Regions from separate parts of the Homo sapiens genome. Here region 2 is linked to region 1. Evidence: promoter capture Hi-C in 16 types of primary human blood cells and fetal thymus (Javierre and others, 2016). All regions are on one chromosome and are shown on one strand. Each heading gives the region's core, a stretch centred on a gene start or on the middle of the fragment in contact. The rest is flanking DNA. Distances are from core to core; before and after follow the strand shown.

Evidence for each region. The method cuts DNA at HindIII sites, captures the fragments that hold promoters and counts their contacts. A CHiCAGO score of 5 or more calls a contact.
Region 2: a fragment that was not itself captured here is called in contact with the fragment with the promoter of PCDHA3 in region 1 in 1 of 17 cell types (M2 macrophages); the score reaches 6.4 in M2 macrophages.

Annotation. Positions count from the first base shown.
Region 1 is chr5:140,798,148-140,802,436 of GRCh38, forward strand. PCDHA3 (protocadherin alpha 3) reads left to right here and starts at 2,910. Exons shown (of 4, transcript NM_018906.3): 1 at 2,910-4,289. The coding sequence starts at 3,051. All of the region lies in intron 1 of PCDHA1 (protocadherin alpha 1), which reads left to right. The region is part of intron 1 of PCDHA2 (protocadherin alpha 2); the gene reads left to right. It also overlaps PCDHA@. The HindIII fragment of the contact is 7,276 bases long and covers 886-4,289 here.
Region 2 is chr5:141,057,526-141,062,041 of GRCh38, forward strand. It overlaps PCDHB1 (protocadherin beta 1), which reads left to right. Exons shown (of 1, transcript NM_013340.4): 1 at 1-1,821. PCDHB1-AS1 (PCDHB1 antisense RNA 1) reads right to left here. Exons shown (of 4, transcript NR_105056.2): 2 at 225-325. It also overlaps PCDHB@. Among named protein-coding and RNA genes, the nearest start is that of PCDHB1, 8.4 kb to the left of the region's middle. The HindIII fragment of the contact is 6,836 bases long and covers 1-4,516 here.

The sequences.
Region 1 (4,289 bases), core at 1,660-4,159:
AGGAGTGAGCCACTGCACCTGGTCTTTTTATTTGTATTTGAAAGCAGCCTGAGTGGATATTTTAACACCAGAATTTCCAAAAGTATGTAGCACAGGTTGTTACAACAAAATGACAGCACTTAGGAATAACTGCTAATCTTAAGTATGTTTTTTATAAGTAAAATAACCCATTATTTGGTATAAAGATTTCACACTGATAACATTTTTGAGTTATCAGGCAAAAATAGAGAGTATTGAGAAAAGAGACCCTCTCAATTTTGTTTAATTTGAAAATATTAACATTTAAAAATCACACTGGGGTTTTTCAGGTGGTGGGACTTTTTCTTCATTTAAGTGGAGACTACCCAGTCTTTATGTTAATGGTTGATAAATCATCCTTTCAGTATCATTATCATTAGGCCAATGTGTGCAGGCCTCCCACTGCAGAGATTGACTACTTTTTTCTGGCATCTAATTCTATGCGTGGGAATACATTTTCCATTAATGTGAGCTCACTCAATTTTACCTGGAAGCATCCATATTCCTAATGAAATTGGAATTTTTCCAAAAGATGAGGCCTGGTCTTGGATGACTACATTTTCACTTGAAACATTTATTTTGGGTAATTATAACACTGAACTCGACAAGTAAATGTTACACTTGGAAAGAACTTTTTTAGCTTTTCCAACCAAAGGCAGATGTATTGCAATAAAATAACTGTCTTAAACGGTCCTCTACTATTTAGTTCTTAGTTATTTGCTGTTTATTCTAAATATATGTGCATATTGATAAATCATAGAAATAACTTCCACTAGTGATCTTACCTTTAGCCATTTCATAGTTAGGTCAGAATATCCATTTCCAAGTAATACTTGACCACTATGTTTCTACCATAGGTAAATGATAAGCTTCTAAAATTATATTCACATATATCCAAATCTCCAGGAGTCACAATCTGTTGCTCTATAAGTTTTTTCAAAACATTCTTATTTACATTTTTTCTTGGTTGTCTAAGTGACATCTAGGTGGTAGTAGAAATTATTCACTGATACTTTATCTACAAAATGGCTCAATCTTCTAAACTCATAGTTCCTTTAATATTACCTTTATCTCTTAATAATCAGTATGGAGTCTACTCTGCTATAAATTCTCATGTGACATTCCATTTTGCAATTAGTATAACTCTTAAAGGTACTGAAAAGTGCAGTATTACAATAAGTTGTCAAAGGCATCTCATTACTATGAAGTCCATGAAGTTTAAAAATTTTAAATTTATCTCTTATTTTCAAACTAGCTACCATCTTTAAAAATTCAGCAAAGTGGTAACTGGAATATTAATAGCTATAATTATTTCTTAGGTCCATGCTTTTCAGAAATAATGCTTAAATGTTTACTTACTTCTTCATAATATAGCACAATATAATCATTTAGAAATTATGTAAGTTTGATATTAACAAATATCATTAACTTACATTTTTATTTATCTTGCTTGAAAAAGTTAATTCAAAATATTAATTTATTTATTCATGAAAACAACAATTGATAATTTATCCTATTCTAAATATGAATGATAAAATCTGAGTAAGTTGCAGTCCTGGCTTCCATTTCATGAATACACAGGAAACAAAAGCTGAAATGAAAACTTTTCCCCTAAATATTTAAATCACATGTTTGATTTCATTTTTAAATGGTCTGGGTATAAGCAAAAATTTGTACATTATTTTATTTCTCTAAATTTGACCTCTTTCCATAAATTTTCTTTGCCCCACTTCCAAATGCGGCGAGAATTCATGCTTCTCATTGAATTCACAGATATCTTTAGAATGTTTTATTGCTTAGTGTTAAATATGTTGAGTAAATACTGGCTTATGTTCCTAGGTTACTTTTCTCCCTTCACTGTTTAGTTAAATAATCAATTCTTTCAAGTAACAACTTTTAAAAAAACTGGAATCTAGAAATTCATCAGGAGTGGAGATCATCAAAAACGTAATTACTTTATATTGTTAACATTTTAGTATATACAGGTAAATTCAAATACATAAAGAGTGTGGAAAAATTAAACCTAATATATTCTTAATTGATGTGATGTGAGTGTAACAAATATACAAATCACATTCCCACAATAGGAAACAAATTTCCTGTTTGAATTTCTCTGTAAAGGACCGACTTCTGAAATCTTTATGTAAGTTACAGTCAAGACAGTTGATGAGGCTATAGTTCTTGAAAAAGGGGCATGGGAGGGAATTACAGACATTCTACAAATTTAAAAAACCATAAATGTACATATTTTAAGAAATTAACAGTTGCTGTAATAACATAAAAGTAGATATATGTATGTTTTAATATATACAGCACACACACACTTTTAAATACTTCAACATCTCAATGTTTTGATGATCATAAATCTGAAAGGATCTGATTTTTCTATAAAATGTAACTTGGGTGGTAAAGAGGTTAATGGTAAGTTGTCTTGAATCAGATTGAAATCCCATCGTACCAAGAGATAATATCGTTTTACTTAACCTCTATGTGTTTATAAAAAGCGAATAATATTAAAACTTATTTCAGAGGATTGTGATAATTTAACGGGATAATTCCATTAAGACAAATAGAAAAGTGGCTGTCACATGGGAAATATTTCCAATAGATGTCCACTGTTAAAACAGGAATCACAATATTTTAGTGTATGTCATGAATTAGCACAATTGATAGTGAATTAGTATAAAAGTTCTAAGGAAATATTTAGATAAAATATAAGGACTTTGAGGAGTGACCGAAGGATATTACAATTGAAACTAGAAATTTTGGGAAAGTTCAAACGACATACAAGGAAAAGAAGATACGTTTACATATTTAATACTTACACGTTTAGCCACATGATGTCGCTGTCCACCACAAGGTCTTTCTCCACAAAAGAAATAACAGCGTGCATTACGTATTCAGATACTGCTTTGCTTCATCCTCTCTAAAATTTAACACCGAGGAGTTTAAGAAATGAAGATAAGGAACTCGAATTATTTTTAAACTTTGGATCAATGTAAAGGCAATCTAATATTTGGAAAATACTTGCAATGTTGTTCTCCTGGCGAGAAGATCCTGGAGCCCAGTGCCTGCTGCTTTCTCTTCTGCTCCTCGCAGCCTCGGAGGTGGGGAGCGGCCAGCTCCACTACTCCGTCTCTGAGGAGGCCAAGCATGGCACCTTCGTGGGCCGCATCGCGCAGGACCTGGGGCTGGAGCTGGCGGAGCTGGTGCCGCGCCTGTTCCGGGTGGCGTCCAAAAGACACGGGGACCTTCTGGAGGTAAATCTGCAGAATGGCATTTTGTTTGTGAATTCTCGGATAGACCGCGAGGAACTGTGCGGGCGGAGCGCGGAGTGCAGCATCCACCTGGAGGTGATCGTGGACAGGCCGCTGCAGGTTTTCCATGTGGAGGTGGAAGTGAAGGACATTAATGACAACGCGCCAGTTTTTCCAATGGCTGTAAAGAATCTGTTTATTTCCGAATCCCGACAGCCTGGCTCTCGGTTTTCGCTAGAGGGCGCATCAGATGCAGATATCGGAACAAATTCGTTGTTGACTTACAGTCTTGATTCCACTGAATATTTTACCTTGGACGTTAAAAGAAATGATGAGGAAATTAAATCCCTTGGACTCGTGTTGAAAAAAAATTTAAATCGAGAGGACACTCCTAAGCATTATTTACTAATAACAGCAATTGATGGTGGGAAACCAGAGCTCACTGGCACGACTCAACTAAAGATCACTGTTTTAGATGTAAACGACAACGCCCCAGCGTTTGAGAGGACGATCTATAAAGTCAGATTACTCGAAAATGCACCAAATGGTACCCTAGTGGTGACCGTTAACGCCACCGATTTGGATGAAGGAGTAAATAAGGATATCGCGTATTCTTTCAATACGGACATGTCAGCAGATATTCTGTCAAAATTCCATTTAGATCCAGTCAATGGACAAATCAGTGTAAAGGGTAACATAGATTTCGAGGAAAGTAAGTCATATGAAATCCAGGTAGAAGCCACGGATAAAGGAAATCCCCCAATGTCAGATCACTGCACAGTTCTACTCGAAATTGTGGACATCAATGATAATGTACCTGAGTTAGTTATTCAATCACTATCTTTACCTGTATTAGAAGACTCTCCACTTAGCACAGTCATCGCTCTGATCAGCGTGTCCGACCGCGACTCAGGAGTCAATGGACAGGTCACCTGCTCGCTGACGCCCCACGTCCCCTTCAAGCTGGTGTCCACCTTCAAGAATTACTACTCATTGGTGCTGGACAGCCCTCTG
Region 2 (4,516 bases), core at 415-2,914, 260 kb after region 1:
GCAAGACTCTGTCTCAAAAAAAAAAAAAAAAAAGAAAAAAAGAAAAAAGAAAAAAAAAGGTAAGATAACAATCTCATAAAAGAAACCATCCTTTAAATTTAAAAAATGTATCGATTTAATAAAAAATTATTTTGCCACCATTTTTCTTATTTTTGCCTTAGGTGAAAATTTTGTCACTCTAATTTTATTCAGACTTCAAGTTCCCAAGAAAATTCCAATCCTACCTGATAACTTAAAATAAGAATATATCAATTCACTGAATGTGAAGTAGGCCACTTGTTTTTGGAGAGAACTCTGTACACCAGCTGAGATTAAGTCCAGGTCTCTATCAGCAAATTAAGACAAAGAATGGAAATAATTAGGGCAATTACTCTCTCCAAAGTGTCAAGTGATATTATAACTATTTCTATGTATTCAAAGCTATAACCTAAGAACCTTGAAAAGTGTCTTGTACAAAAAGGCTTTTTATTAGGAAATAATTCTAGACTCATAAAATTGCAAAAATACTATAGATAGTTCCTGTATATCCTTCACCTAACTTCCCGGAATGCTAACATCTTATATAACCATAGTAGTTATCAAAATTAAGAAATTAACCTTGGTATAATTCTATGAAGTAAACTACAGATCTTATTCAAATTTAACAGTTTTCCCCCAATGTCCTTTTTCTATTCAAGGATCCAATCCAGGATCCTGCAAAGCATTTGTTATGGCTCCTTAGTCTCTACCACCTGTGACAGTTCCTTACTCTTACCTTGTCTATCATGACTTGAGATTTTTGAAGAGTACTAGCCAGTTATTTGTAGAATGCCCCTCAGTTTGGGATTCTTTGTTTTCTCATTATTAAACTGAGGTAATGCATTATTGGGAAAAATACTGCAGAAATGATATTGTATCCTTTTCAGTGCATCACGTCAGCAGGTATGTGATGCCAATGTCACACTACTGGTGATATTAATCTTTTTTCTTTTATTGTGGTAAAGAACTTATAAAATGTACCATGTTAGCCATTTTTAAGTATGTTAGCCATTTTTAAGTAATGTTAAGGTGATGTTAATTTTGATCGCTTGGTTAACATAATGTCTGCCACGTTTCTCTACTATAAAGTTACTTTTTTCTCTTTGTAATTAATAAACACTTGGGGGATATGCTTTGAAACTATGCAAATATGATGTTTCTGCTTAAACCAATTTTAGTATCCATTGCTAGATATTTCCTGTGGCAATTAATATTGTGGCATTCTAATGGTGATTTTCTATTTCTCTATTTCCTTTTACATTAATTAAAATTCTTCTGGAAGGAAAACTTGTTACTTTCCCCCCCACTTATTTAGTTAGTTATTTCTTTACATAAGGATACCTGGATATCTCCTCTATTATTTGGGTTACAAACTAATCCTATCATTTACTTTGTTGTTCAGCAAACTCTTTTATCTGAGATGAAGAGCAGATTTTTAAGACTGGAATTATCCATATAGAATACATTTTTATCAAAATTAGTATTTCTTTGTAACTCTACATGTTAGATTATTTTAAACAATCATAAAGTAACCCCATTAAGGTTCATGCATAAAGTTTTAACTTTAAATGAAAATTATACTAACATAATTTTAAATTAGTCATACATTTTAAAATAGATATAAACTGAAAATTTTAAAATTTGTTGTGCAGACATGTTTATATAGTTTAAGCTATATATACCTGAGATACTATTTAAAAATAGACTTATATGCTGAAATTAGACTTACAGATATACAAAAAATGGAATTGGTCTGTCTGATATTATGTAATTCTCCTAAAAATAAAGAATTTCTTTATCATGTTTGTGCATTTTTTGTTGTTTTCCATTTAGGGATGAATTTGTCTTATTCTTGGAAGCATAATTCATTCATATGATTATCCCATATAAATAGCTATTTTCTGTAGAGTTTAATATCTTCAAAGTATGTGACTAAGTGGACATTCATTCTTCAACCAAAAGTCTGACTTCATTTTCAAATATGTGTAACACTTTTAAAAAACATTATTAAAGTATTTGTTGTGTTTATATAACACTGAAACAGGCCGGGCATGGTGGCTCACACCTGTAATCCCAACACTTTGGGAGGCCAAGGTGGGGAGATCACCTGAGGTCAGGAGTTCGAGACCAGCCTGGCCAACACGGTGGAAACCCCTCTCTACTAAAAATACAAAAATTAGCCAGGCATGGTGGCTCACACCTGTAGTCCCAGCTACTTGGGAGGCTGAGGCACGAGAATTGCTTGAACCCAGGAGGCAGAGATTGCAGTGAGCTCACATCATGCCACCACGCTCTAGCCTGGGCAACAGAGTAAGACTCAGTCTCAAAAAAACAAACAAAAAAACCCCCAAAAACAAACAAACAAAAAAACCACTGAAACAGAATGTGAAAAAGTGAAAGTAACAAAAGTTTTCTGGTCAAGCTGGTGAAGTAAGTTTATGCTTCTGTGTACCACGCTCTGCTCTAAATACAGCAGTAACAGGTAAAAATTAAAAATTAAAAAAAATGCGGCTGGGCGTGGTGGCTTGCACCTGTAATCCCAGAAGGCCAAGGCAGGCGGATCACCTGAGGTCAGGAGTTCGAGACCAGCCTGACCAATATGATGAAACCCCGTCTCTACTAAAAATACAAAAATTAGCCAGGTGTGGTGGCATGAACCTGTAATCCCAGCTACTTGGGAGGCTGAGACAGGAGAATCGCTTGAACCCAGGAGGCGGAGGATGCAGTGAGCCGAGATCAGGCCATTGCACTCCAGCCTGGGCAACAAGAGCTAAACTCCGTACCCCCCACTACCCGCCCCTGGCCAAAAAAAAAAAAATGCAAGGCCAGGCACGGTGGCTCATGCCTGTAATCCCAGCACTTTGGGAAGCTGAGGTGGGTGGCCAAGGTCAGGAGTTCGAGACCAGCTTGGCCAACATGGTGAAACCCTGTCTCTACTACAAAATACAAAAATTAGCTGGGCGTGGTGGCATGCACCTGTAATCCCACCTACTCAGGAGGCTGAGGCATAAGAATCGCTTGAAGCCAGGAGGCAGAGGTTGCAGTGAGCCGAGATTACACCACTGCACTCCAGCCTGGGCGACAGAGTGAGACTCCATCTCAAAAAAAAAAAAAAAAAAAAAACCAAAAACAAGGAAAACCAGAAATGAAACAGACATAAAATGGTAAGTGGGGATAAAATCCTTGGATTTCCAAGCTATCAGGATGGGAAGTTGGCATAGGCTACCATTGGTTTGGCTCTTATGGGCTCTCAGGAACAAAATGTTCACCATGAAAAATGGAGAATAAAAGCCAGTGTCATTGGTTAGAGCCAAGAGGTAGGATGGGTCAAGGAAGGTTGAAAAGCCATTGCCAAAAAATTCCTGAAGCTATACATTATGGTATGTTGCAGGCCTATGAAGGCTGGAGGACACAGAAACAACATCCAGAATATGTACTGGGCTCTGTAGCCAACAGACTTAATGTAGTCATCTGTACTATTTCCAGTACCATGCTGGGTCAGAAGCCCAAATCATTACTATACAACCTGATTCTAGACCATGTCCAGGGTCTAGGAAATGGACATAAGTAGAGAAAGGAATGAAAAGGAAGACATTTTCAAAAAGTGTCATTCAACATAAAACTGTTTAAGATGCTTGCAGAGATGAATTTAGAAGTTATACCCACCAAAGATAGTAAGTTATGAAATAAAAAAAGACTGAAATAAAGTAAGAATGGATCCATATAAATATAGCCAACCAGAAATTTTAGAAATGAAACTTATTAATTGTAATAAAACCTCAATAGATAGTATAAACTTCAATCTGGAAGCTAATGAAGACTAAATTAGTAAATTGGTATGTAACTATGGAATTATATATGGACACGTGGATATTTACTCTATTATTTAGGTTATAATTCAATTCTATCATTTATTTTGTTGTTCAGTAAACCCTTTCAACAACCCTTATTTTGTTGTTCAGTAAACCCTGTTTGTTCAGAATAACCCTTTGTTGTTCAGTAAACCCTTTTATCTGAGATAAAGGAAGATTTTTAAGATCTGCCCAATAACTGAACAAAAAGATACAAATTACGAAAGAGTATTTAAAGATGTTATCTACTGTGATAAACCACACTGAAACTTAAAGGCATAGAACAGACATATTATGCTCAGGGACTCCATGGATCAGGGATTCAGACAAGACCCAATGAGGATGAATTGTCTCTGCTCTGTGATGCCTGAGGCCTCAGGTAGAAAGACTCAAAGGCTGAGAGTGACATAGTGGCAGTGAGCTAGTATCATTTGGAGGTGACCTCTCTTCCATGATTGATGCTGGCAGTGAACCATAATACCTGTCTATGTGGCCTGGGCTTCTTTAAAACATGGTAGCTGGGTTACAACAGCAAGTATCACTTTCACCACACTTTCCATTGGTCAAGCAGTCACAGAGACCAAATTCAAGATAAGGGGACATATGTCCTACCTCTTGAATAAAGGAGTGGTAAAGAATTTGGAGAA